Regions from separate parts of the Homo sapiens genome. Here region 1 is linked to region 2. Evidence: promoter capture Hi-C in 16 types of primary human blood cells and fetal thymus (Javierre and others, 2016). All regions are on one chromosome and are shown on one strand. The core of a region is centred on a gene start or on the middle of the fragment in contact, and the rest is flanking DNA. Distances in the headings are between cores, read along the strand shown.

Region 1 (6,704 bases), core at 3,402-5,901, 71 kb before region 2:
CTGGCCCGGGAGGCAGCCCGTGGGCCGCCGGCGCGCCCTGCCGGGCACCCAGCAGCGCGCTCCCGTTCTCATCAGACGGGAGAAAAAACGCCCAGGCAGAGGAACGTCTAAAAGTCAAGTCATCAAAATTAATGTAATCGAGAAAATGTGCATATTTAAAATATGGATAGAGACGCATAAATACATCTTTAAAATAAAAATATAATCGTTTGTGTTAAGTCCTTGCTCCATTGGCTCTCAGCTGCACTCACAGCACCAGTGAGACCGACACGGTTGTGCCCCATCCCACAGGCGCCAAATGGAGGGCGCAGGGTTTTAGGAGCTCGCGTAGGGCCTCTCGGGCGGCAGCAATGGAGCCGCGAGGCCGGCGGGGAGACCGAGGACGGGACCCGCTGAGCTCTGGGTGAGCTGGGGGGACTCGAGGGGACCTGGATGGGCCAGAGGCCTGGCTTGGGGAAGGGCCCCTTCCCGGTTCCCCAAGGTCCCGGTGTGCCGCTGCCGTAGGGAAGCAGGAAGGCACGGCCGCGCCAGGCGACCTGAACGAGAGGAAGCCCGGGGTCGCCGCCCGCGGGCGCGGCTGGTGTTCATACCCAGCCAGGAAGGGCGGGCGGGCCTCGGGTGCCACGCGGCGTGCCCGGCGCTTTCCCCGCAGTCCCGCTTGCTGCCCGTCCCTGGACTCCTTATCAGGCAGCTGGGTGACCTTGCTGCAAAGGGCAGGGCCGTGGAGCAGGATTTCTGCCGCACACCAGCCACCTGCAACGGTGGTAAGAGGATTTGGCAGTGATCCGGGTACTCTACCTAATATTGGGGCTGAAATATCAGAAGGAATGATAAAATCCATTTTTAAGTGATAGCGTTTAAAGGTGTTGGATCAGGTTTAATGAAGAAAATCATCTCCATCCCAGCTGGGCAGAGATTTGGGATTGTACCCGTGTTTCTTCCCGCACATTGTCACCTGTGGCTTGTTCATCCGTTCATTTCGCGTGCACTGAGGACCTCTGAGGACCTTGCGCCAGACTCTGGAGCAAGCGCGAAATGAACAAAAGCCGGCCCTGCCCTTGGGAAAAATCAAACACACAATGGCCGCTGAGTGCACGCTCCGAGCACGCGCCAAGCCCTGGAAAGCCCGGTAGAGGGGACCCTCCAACCTCCCGCAGTGATGCGTGTGTGGCCAGGGGTCTTGCTAGGCTGCACCTTGCACCTGAATCTCCCGTTGCCTTCACCGTGGAAGCGTTTGCTGTAAAAATAACATGGGGGTTGGGGCGGGGGAGACGTCTTTGTAGCTTTCTCACAGGGCTTAAGACATCTGTCCTGCTATCTTCCCCGGCCTTCCAGGGATTCTCAGTGGATGTTAGCTCTCTGGATTTCACTGGCAAGGTTATAGAGACTTACCATTTTCTGATATGAACATCTGCCAAGTAACGCATAGAGAATAGGAAAGCATGCATATCCCACAAGGAAAAAAAATAAAACTAAGAAACTGTTCTATCAAAGAATTAAGTAAGCATGGAGTGTGTCACTGGATAAATTAAACATACAGAGTTTGGATTGAGGCTAGGAAAGGTTGAAGCAAGAGAAAAGGAGCCCTGGTGACTTGCCCAGGGCAGAGGTTTTTGAAGTGAGCTTCCTCCTTGGAGACCCCTCAGCGCAGGGGGAGTTTGGGAAGACGGGGGCGCCAGAGCAGGTAGGCTTGGCTCCCTCTCCAGCCTCTTAAGGCACGAGTTATTTTACATATTTAGCTTCTGAAAATTGTTTTATTTAAACAAGGGATTCCGGAGGCTACAAACGAAAGCTTGAAAACACTGACAGATGAAGTGCAAAAAATTTGGCTGACCATTATAAATTTGATAAAGATTTCATGTCCTGAATCTGAAAGAGATTCTAAAATATATTACAGATTTAGTTCTACAGAGAAGGGATGAACTCTTCCAAGTAATTTCACAGGTGGAGATGGTTAGAAGTCCTCATACTGGGTGGTTAAAATTGATTTCTTCCATAGTTATGGAAAAGACTTGATACCTTCTCTTGGAGAAATAAGGGACTCATTCAATTGTAAGTTTTTATTGTTTAGAACATAGAAATTCCTTCTACAACCAGAAAAAAACGCTATTTTCATTTGGGGGCAAAGAATTTTAAATAAGATTCTGGAATTCTGTTATGTGATTACTACATACTAATAAGAGTTCATCTTTTTGGTAAAATGAACACCCAAGCATGTTTGTATGCAATTAACGTTTGTTTCAAGACTCTGAAGAGCTGGCAACAATTTGGGCAAGGAAAATGTGTCTATTTCTCTCAATTTGTCTACTGTATGAATTAAACACACCAGAGACTGGCTTAAATTGGTCTGAATATTGACTTGCTTTTTTAGCAGCACTCTGAAACATTTGAGGTTTTTTTTTTTTCCCAAACTTATTTCAGAATGCATCACTGGATAAATTGGCTTGGTAAGGCATTGATTAATTCAAGACACAGTAAGGAACCACTGGGTTAAAGTGGGAAAGAAATAATACAAATTTTAGTTGGACAGTCATTATTATTAAATTGTTCAGGGGGTAACTATGGGAACCAACTTAGTGTCTTTACTTTTTGACAAAATTAATGTGATTTATAGTGATGACTATCATCCAAATCGAAAAATATATACAGAATTTTTTTTAAGAGACAGATTCTCACTATGTTGCTCAGGGTGGTCTCAAACTCCTGGGCTCAAGCGATCCTCCTCCTTAGACCTCCCGAAGTGCTGGGATTACAGGTGTGAACCACCACACCTAGCAGAAATTTTTTTGTATACGCCAGACGCGGTGGTTCACACCTATAATCCCAGCACTTTGGGAGGCCTATGGAGGATTGCTTGAGTCCAGGAGTTTGGGACCAGCCTAGACAACGTAGTGAGATGAGACCATGTCTCTACTAAAAATAAGAAAATTAGGCTTGGTGGCTCATGCCTGTGGTCCCAGCTACTCAGGAGGCTGAGGCGGGAGGATCACCTGAATGTGGGAGGTCCAGGCTGTAGTGAGCCATGATGTCACCATCGTACTCCAGCCTGAGACAGAGCAAGACCCTGTCTCAAAAATAAATAAATAAATTTTTTTAATCTTAAATTTTAGAATTTGCATAATTTACCTGCAGCAAATTTGATCATGGGACCATGTAGTTCTTGGCTGGTACCTTCTGTGGAAAAATGGCAAGTTTCACCTTTCATACTTGTTTACTTTTCTTAATTGAGTTTAGCTTAAATCCAAGCTATTTCAATCCTTTGAGGGCATAATTTGATTATTTGTGTATCAGGTAAATGAAGAGCTGATTGCATTTAATTTTTAAAAAGATTTTATACTTATTAGACTATACTGATTTTAAGAAGAAACAGTCTGTTGTCCTGATAATCATTCTTTAAATAAAATTACCAGCAGGGATAGACATTTTCACTGATACATTTTGTCATTAAAATTCAACTTTCCATTACCTGAATTAATAGACAGCAGTGATGCTCCTGTCTTATAATACTTGAGTTATTTTGAGATATTATTTTACAAAGAGAAGCAGTGAGTTTCATTCATGCGGTAGTGGCGGGGAGGGAATGGTGAGAACTTAGAGGTAGCACTGAGCCGGCAGGATTAGAGTCAAGGGTGTATTTTGTGTTATTAGGGAGCAGGTATTTCTTCCTTATAATAATCTCCTTCATGCAACTACTCCTCTGACTGATAAACAAATGGCTTCTTAGGTCCCAACGTCAGAAATAAACAGAGAAAGGTGGCCTCTTGCCATAACAGTGCTCTCCCCAAAGTCCCTAAGGTATAGAGGACTCAGTCTAAAACGGGGGCTGGATTGGTGTTCTAACCACCAGTGTGCCCAGGAACACCTATTCTACCCTGGTCAGGTGAACCTCAGGACGTCTCCCAATGTCGCCTGGGCTTGGCTGGCCAGGCAGCCAGGGAACTGTGCTTTCAGGCAGGTCCAGACTCACATGCTGTGCCCATAGACAGTGAGAGCTGCAAATCAAAGAGAAATAGTCATGTTTTGCCCTTTTTATTAAGGATCCATGTTGAAATTGGGAGGCAGTATGTAACAGTGGTTAATAGCACACAGCTGGGGTTCCCACCCACTTAGGTTTAAATTCTGGCCGTGTGACCTTGGCTGCTGATGGCTGAACCTCTCTGAACTTCATCTGTTCAAGGGGACACAGATACCAATTTCACAGGTTGTTGCAAGATAAAATGAAAGGAAAGCGTTTATGATCTGGCACAGTGACTGCAACATGGTAAAACTCAATGAATTGTAGTGATTTTAGTTATTATCCTTAATAAACTTATGGCTAGTTCTGACTTCTGAACAGAACTTTTCATGTAAGGTTGCGATCAATAGTACTATGTTTAATGTTTTCTTTTCTTTCTTTCTATCCTGGTCTTTTCCCCTTTTTTCCTTCCTTTCACCTTCCTTTTCTTTCTTTTTTTTAGAGAAATCATTTAACCTGGAGCTGTCCTTTGTAGAAAACAGAAATAAAAGGGCTAAAGTCTATATTTTAACTAAAATTCCTCATTTCAAGGAAACCAACTAGAAATGGTAGATGCAAAGTTGATTTTTTTTTTTTTTTTTTTTTACAAATTGTCATCTAGAAGTTGCCAGTATGACTGGGAAGCAACAAGAGGCTTCAGCAGCAGTAATGCTTTCCAGAGCGCTGGAGGAGAGGCCCTGGCCTGACTCAATGTTGCCCTGGCAACAGTAGGGCCTGGAGGGCCTCTGTCCCTGATCCCTTAATCTGAGGAGCTGCCACCACAGTGCTTCAGGAAAGGTCTCCCACAGACACCTGGCTGGTTCAGGCTACATCCACTGAAGAGGAATGAAGAAAAGCTGGGGATGCGGTCCTTTATCAGAGACAGCCGCCTAAAGGCCTCTCTGATGGTCCCAGCTTTCCAGATCCCCAGAGGCTTAACCAGGCTGCCAGTCTCCACCAGATGCTAAGTGCTGTCTAGGCAGCCAGGGATTCCTAATCCTCTTGTGTTTCTCCACAGAGCCCAGCACAATTCTTTGCACACAAGTGGTGATTAATAAATACTGGGGGGGGGGTGCAGGGCTGTAAGACAGTGAGCATCCCCTCGGCACCAGCCCTGCCTGTCCCACCTGTGACCTTGGAGGACCCAACTCCTCTCCTCTTCATTTCTCAGCTATAAAATGCTAGGGCTCAGCGCTAAGGGTTTTTTCCTGCCTCAAACATTCTTTTTTATCCTCTTACTGTGTTCATCATTTTGGCAAATGCACAGAGCATGTTCTGTTTAATATATTTTGTTTCCCCCAATTTTATCTTCAGTCAAAAAATCCGGAGGCAAAATGGAATAATTTAAAAGAGGTGCTGGCTTTTCTTTTTTCAACAACGATACTGGCCCCAGGAAAACAACTTTTTGGCCAAGCACATGGGCTTTGGAGTCAAAGAACTGAGTTCAAATCCTGGCTCTACTATTTGGTTGCTGTGTGACTTTGGGCCTACTTAACCTCCCTGAGCCTGGAGCTTTCCACCTATAAAATGGGTGTAATGAAACATACATCAGAGTTATGAAGGGATGTATGTAAAGTCTTCCAAAGTAAGAAGCTCTCAATAAATGGTAGTTATTCCTTCTGCTACACAGCTTTATGGGGCCAACAGCAACAGGCAACTTAGGAGTTCACAAGTCTAATTAAATTAAGGGCACCCAAGAAAAGCACTGTGAAAGAGGACCAGAAAACTCAGCGAGGTGGGGTACTACCTCCTGCAAACTCTGGAGTGTGGCCAAGGGGTGAACTGAAACCCTGTCCACTCCTAGATAAGGACCATGATATAGTTGTGGTTTAATTTGTACTTTCTCACACCAAAATAATCTACATTTGCCTACTGAAATTTCCTTCTCAAAGATTCATTCTTTTAGGATATAACACTAGCCCACTACCAACTTGAACTTCTGTTTGAAATTAGTAATCTCTTATTGAGACCTTAGTATCTGCCAGTGTCTTTGCTATGTATCTATTGTGATTTAAGCCTCAGAACAATGGGAACTTTATTATCCCTATTTGACAGATGAGGAAATTGATGTTCTGTTAATTAACTTGTTCAAGGCCATACAACTATGAAGTTTAAAGCCACGTCTTTTTGACACCAAAGGCTATCTACACTTTAGGAACCAATAGCAGAGATTAGGGCAAATGGAAAGTGAGATTCAAGATGGTGGCAAGAAGTCAGAACAAGGGGAGAGACGATGGGGGGCACAGGGTGCTGGGCACTTAGGAAGAGGCATGAGGAGGGAGTCAGAGCCAAGGAAGGGGAGGTAGAAGTCAGGGAAGTCATGGCAGCCCAGCTACGTGTAAGATGAACCAATCTTGACATACTATGACGTGTTCTGAAAGACTTTAAATGGTATCCCAATAGACAGAGACGTAAGGATGCACGAACCAGGCTGTTCTAGTTGGTGCAATAAATTGTCAGTTAAAAGAAAAAGAAATACCAATCTTTGACTATATTTGGTTTAATCCTTTTAAAAAACAAATTTCAGATGGGAGCTATGGCTCATACCTGTAATCCCAGCACTTTGGGAGGCTGAGGTGGGAAGATGGCTTAAGGCCAGGAGTTTTGAGACCAGCCTGGGCAACACAGAAAGACTCCCCCATCTCCAAAAAAGTTAAAAAAAAAATTAGCTGGGTGTGGTGGTGCACACCTGTAGTCCCCCAGCTACTCG
Region 2 (5,863 bases), core at 417-2,916:
TATTATGGGCTTTGTGTGGCATGAAAGGGACCTCTGCTAAACTACTTTATTAAGAAAATATTAGTCTTTTACTCATGGACAACAAGGTGCATGGTTTTCTTACAGTTCTGATGGGGCCAGGAAACCCTGTGTAAGGTCTTCACACTATGTGGTGGGAGGTGGCGACTGTGCGCTGCTCACTCCAGCCCAGCTTCTTACTGACAAGTGGCTGGAATATGTGGGGCTGTCCTTGGACTCCTGCCAGGGGAGCTGAAACTCTTTGCTTGAGAGGAGCTGATGGTAAGAGGAGCCGGATCCCTCATCCACTGCCCACCCGCAGGATGAAGTCCAGGCATGCAAACCCCTTCTTAGTCTCTCTCTGCAGACTCCTTTCCCACTGCCTCCAAACCAAAACCATCTTCTCCAGGCTCATGGACTCCTTTCTGTGCCTGCACACGCCCTGCACTGTCCCGTCTCTCTGCGCCTTTGCCCAGGCACTCCTCCCTCCCTGAAAGCACCACCGGTCTAGCTGGGCCTGAAATCCTAGCCTTCCCTAAAAGCCCGGCTCAAATCACAGAGGCGCAGAGCATCAGGCCAGGAGGGGTGGACAGCGGTACCAAGAGGCCCCCTGACACTCCTTCCCCCGGAGCCCACCGCAAGCTTCCACCTGGGCGCCAGCACTCACCCCTTTCTGTTTTGCACGATTATTGCCCGCGTACCTGCCTGCCTGGTCCTTGAACACACAGCCACTGTGTGTCTTTTCACACTTTCCAGCTGGGTAAGCCTGGGCAAGTTAAGTTCTCTAGGCCCCGGGTTTTTCTTTTGTATGACAGAGATTAACACCAGTACCCATCCCACAGGCTTGCTGTGAGGACAGACTAACGCCTCAACAGGGCTTGTGGAAGTGCGTGGCTCTATATTCCCTTCCGCGCCGACCCCGGGAAGCTGGGCACGTAGTGGGAGTCGGTGTATGCGGATTCGAAGCCGGACACCTCCCAGGTGCCACCAGGCCGCTGCGGGGGAGATGGAGAGGGACCTACAGGCCGAGCGCCAGGCAGAGAAAGGAGCCGCGGGTGGGGGGGCACCCAGAAGGAGGGGACAGCGGCTGGGGCGGGGGCAGGAAGCCCCGGAGGGCCCAAAGAACTTGGCGTGGGGCGGCCCGGGGCGGGGACAACCGTTCCGCCAGCGCTCGGGTTCGGCTCGGAGTGGGGGCCCGGCCGACGGGCGCAGTAGGCCCCGGCGGACCCCGCGCCCCATTCGCGGGAGCCCCAGGCCCGGTGGTCCGGCCCGGACCCCGGAACCCCTCCCCAGGGCCTGCGGCGCCGTGTGCCGGGGCCGGGCCGCCTGGGGCCCCCAGGCCGCGAGTCCCTGCGCGCGCGGGTCGCCCTTACCGGAGCCGCGACCGCCTCGGCCATGGCCCTGCGCTGTCCCGCCCGGCCCGGAGGAAGTCGTCGTCGCCGCCGCCGCGCGCGGCACCACGCAGGCCCGGCCGCCCGGTGCTCTCCGCAGGCGGCGCCTGCCTGGCCTTTCCTCTGCCGCCGCTCCTCGCTGGCTGCCCCTGCGCCGCGCCGCCCGCAGTCGCGCCGCCTCCGTCAGCGCCCGGCCGGTCCACACTGCATCCTGGGAGCCGGCGCCGCGGCCCGGCAGACGAAGGCCCGTGAGGCTTCCTGGAGGCAGCGCGGCCGCACAGCCCCACCTGCAGCCTGAGAGGCGAACGGCAGGCGCTGCGCCCGCCTGCCCGCGGCCCCGCCCCGCCCCGCCCAGCCCCGCCCGCGGGGCCCGACGGGAGGACCTAGCGACCCCGGGCCGACCCCGCGACCCCGCGACCCCGCGACCCCGGCCGGACTGCCGAGCGCGGGGGGAGTCACTGCGCTGGCCCCGCGGCCCAGCCCGAGGACTCGGTTATTGAAAGGGTCCCCCTCATGGGACCCGCCTGGCCGCGCCCGCGGGCGAGCACGGGCTTCCGGGCAGGGCGTCCCCCGGGTGACCGCGGCCAGGGCGGCCCCCTCGCCCTGGGATGCCCGGCTCCCCTTCCCCCGCCCCACGGGCACTTCTGCTGCCCGAGGTCCTGGGTCTGGAGGTTTAGGCTATTTTGGGGAGGACAGATGTAACTCATGCCCACCTGTGTTTGAAATGGAATAAATACTTCCAACAACAGGAATATAGTTCGGTAAACCCCGGTAGGCAACCACTTAGCATTTTCTGTAATGGGTTTATTACAGTAAATTTTTTTAATGGCATGAGCAATGGGACGCAATACCATCATTTAAAATGATTTCGGTGAAGGTCTTGGTAGGAACAGATGTTCATGATGTTTTAAGAGAAAAAGCCTGTCCAGGACGATCCTGTCTTTGTTTTAAAAATAACATTTTAAAACAATATAGGACATATGTAGCGTCATATACTGCGTACATGTATAATTACAGTTTTGAAAAGTTTGGAAGCATATATATCAACATGGCCTCAGTAGTTCTATTAAAGGTCTATTCCTTTAATAGACCACGGGCCGTTTTTATGCCTTTTCTAATTTTTTCCAATTCATGTTTTTATTTTTCCATGACAAGGATAGTATTTTTAAACAAGGAGAGAAAAATAAAAATTTAAATGTTCTCAAAGAGGCCAACCAGAGCAGGGGAAGGAGGGCGCCTTGGACGGGCCCCCACGTAGTTTCAGAGGCTCATTGCCTTTCAGGAACACGACTTGCTCATCTGTGTATTCCCCAAGACTAACTAGCCAACTGCCTAGCACACACTGATAAGAAAATATGTGAGAGATCTGTAATCTTTTTCAAAGAAGGCAGACCTTACAGAATAGATAAAATTTGAGCTGGATCTTGAAGAATTGGCAAAATATTGATAGGCAGAGAGCATTTCAGACCAGAGGGTGGTAGTAGAGGTGTGAGCTGGATGACAGCCCAAAAAAAAATTGATGTAGGAAGATATAAAGCATTTTAGGGCCGGGCGCAGTGGCTCACGCCCGTAATTCTAACACTTTGGGAGGCCAAGATGGGTGGATTGCCTGAGCTCAGGAGTTTGATACCAGCCTGAGCAACATGACAAAACCCCGTCTCTACTAAAAATAGAAAAAATTAGCGAGGCGTGGTGGCACGCACCTGTAATCCCAACTACTGGGGAGGCTGAGGTACGAGAATCGCTTGAACCCGGGAGGCAGAGGTTGCAGTGAGTGGAGATCACACCACTGGGTGACAGAAATACAGTGCATTAGAAATAAAGAGACATTTTTAGTGTGCAATTTAAAAAGTTCCCTTTTGACAGGCTGAGTCGGATATGCCAGGGTCATCTCTAGGTAGTAATTTCCAAGCCTGGCTCTCAGAGCAGCTGCATCAGTCTCTGGGGAAGCTTGTGAAGGATATGGATTTCTGGATCCCATCTCATATCTACTGAATCAAAATGTCTTTGGGATGGGTCCTGAGTAATGTGGAGAAAACTTATTTTAAAAGAAGGTCTCTTTTTAACAAGTTCCTTGTAGGGGTTGAGGTAAGGGTGAAGCTGGGGCTCTGCAGACAGCCAAGTTAGGGTAATGATGACTTGCTCTGTCCTCCACTGAAGACAGGCATCTATTGCAGAGCATCTCTGGTGCTGGTTTTCCAGCCTCTATTTGTAAAAAGAACGAAGATAAACCTCCTTGGATTGATATATGAGGCTTCCAAAGCCTTTCCCTCCATTTTGGGCACAGGTGTCAAAAGCAGGCATGAGAGTTTCCACTCCTGTGCCTTTCCTCATGCTTTTCCCCTCTCCTCTTGCCCACCCGAAGTTCTCACACCTTTTCCAGACCAGCATATGCCCTAATTCTTCCAGTTAAGTCTCTCCATGCCAATCACGGCTGCAGCAAGCTCTGCATTGTCCCAACTCTAATAATTTTTATTCTCGGTGCCATTCATATGGCACTGAGAAAAAAATTACAATACAAGGTAGTAGTTCCTAACTCACCTCTTGGATTATAAGTTCCCTGAGAGCAGGGACTATATCTTATTTCTCTTGTCTCTCCTGCAGTGCCTAATACTGGGCAGGTTTAGGCAACATAAAGTAATGATTTAGTACAAGTCTTAATTGATTGCTCTGTGTGGTGTGATCAACTGTGGTCCAAAGAATCATCCCCTCCTCTGCTCTAATACTTCTGCAGCCCCTACCATCTCCACCTTCCTGCTGAGTATTCCTAGAAGAAAAATCATAAAGCATTTTCAACACACCCAGAAGGAGCCTGGAAGGGCTAGAGAACATGAGACCACATGTCAACTCAAGGTGTCAGGGAGGCAGGAAGTGTGTGGTTCATACTGCACATAGACTGTGTAGATGTAGGGACTATGGACCCATGCACCCCTATGAGTGCTTCCTATACTCCAGCAGGTACAGCAGAACAGGTGGACCTCTATTTTTCCAGCTGCTCCCTTAGGCCTGAGCTTTTCCCCTGGGACCAGGCACACAGCCTAAAAGTTCAGGCTTGGGGTTTTCAAAAAGACTGTGGTAATCATTGCTGCCCACTAAATATTTCCAGCTGGTTTCTCTTGAAGACCATGGCTGGATGGCACTTCCTGGTTTCTTCTGGCTGGGTTGGACCATGTGACAAGTTCTGGCTGATGTTTTTTCTTTCCCTCTACTATGGTAACCCAGCAATATTTGAGGAGGTGGGTGCTGTATTTGCCTGCATCCTGGAGGTGGGGGACATTGAGTAGACTCCCCAGCCATCCCATGATGAGCTACTTACAGCATGAACATGAAACTTTTTGTTGTAACATGGTTTGGGGGTTGCTTGTTCCACAGTTTAACCTAGCCTATCCTGACAGATACAAAGGCATGGTGAAAGTTGGCCAGGCATTGCAGCAGGCATCCTTGGGCTCCAGGTGGTGTCTGCTCGAGCTTAACTTCCCTTACATTGTCTGAGTGCTCTCACATTGAGCGTTACCCTGCAGCGGTTAGATGTGGTGAAGTGCTGGAGAACTTGCAGCTGGCCCTGGAGTCTCTCCCATGGAGCCAGTGCCAAGTTCCTGCCTCAAATCCCTCAGTGAAATTTGCAGATGCGGATGGTCAGGGCCATGGCTCTGAGAAGCTACCTCCTTTCCTTCTGCTGGGAGCTGGGAGACTCACAGTCCTCTGGGGTTGGCTGGCTGGAGGCCAGTGCCTCAAAAATATTCTATACCAGAGCCCTTGAGTACAGAGAAAAGTGAATGTATGTCCTGTGGGTCTGGACGCTGCCTGAAATGGCCCTTGGTGAGCCAGAAGGTGTGATAAATTGTCATACTTTAACAATCCATTAAATCTTGTCTCCTTTATAAAACTTCTGTGCTTGTTTTAATTTTAAAAGATTATTTTGATTTATTGACCAGAGTAAAAAATTTATTTGATGTTTCAAAACCCCTCTCTTGCTCCTGAAATGGGAACAATTCCCTCATCCGCCTCTCAGGGTGTGAGATGGGGGCTGCAGCTCACTTTGTCAGTGCCCCGCTGCTCAAACCTCTAGCGGGAGCATGTAGGCAGGCAGGCTGTGGGGCTTATCACAAGGACAGAGGGCTTTCTGTATCCTGGGGTTCTTGCCTTAGTGTGCCAGAAAAATTAGATCACGCGTGGGCTTGGGGGATGGGTGCAAGGCTTTTTATTAAGTGGTGGCAGCTCTCAGTGAGGTGGATGGAGAGGCCAGAAGGAGGATGGAGTGGGAAGGTGGCCTTTCCCTGGAGTCAGGCCACCCAGTGGCCGGGCCCTCCTCCGACTGGCCTCTGCTGAACTCCGTGTCGTCCCGTCATAGATGGCCTGCCGGCGTCTGCTGGTGTCTGCCCGTGTGTTCTTCTGCTGTTGAGTTCCTCTCGATGTCCAGCTGCTCGTGTCCGTGCCCACTAGGGTCTCAGGATGTTTAAAGGCACAGGATGGGG

Evidence for each region. Contacts are between HindIII fragments. The CHiCAGO score rates a contact against its expected background, and 5 or more counts as called.
Region 1: a contact is called between a fragment that was not itself captured here and the fragment with the promoter of ZNF746 in region 2, in 3 of 17 cell types (neutrophils, monocytes and naive CD8 T cells). The highest score is 9.5, in neutrophils.

Annotation. Positions count from the first base shown.
Region 1 is chr7:149,422,549-149,429,252 of GRCh38, forward strand. No RefSeq gene overlaps it. Among named protein-coding and RNA genes, the nearest start is that of TRC-GCA11-1, 11 kb to the left of the region's middle. RefSeq lists a silencer at 1-120. The HindIII fragment of the contact is 5,723 bases long and covers 1,791-6,704 here.
Region 2 is chr7:149,496,143-149,502,005 of GRCh38, forward strand. It overlaps ZNF746 (zinc finger protein 746), which reads right to left and starts at 1,667. Exons shown (of 7, transcript NM_001394198.1): 1 at 1,371-1,667. The coding sequence starts at 1,394. RefSeq lists an enhancer at 1-928 and silencers at 1,062-1,121, 1,362-2,031. The HindIII fragment of the contact is 2,699 bases long and covers 638-3,336 here.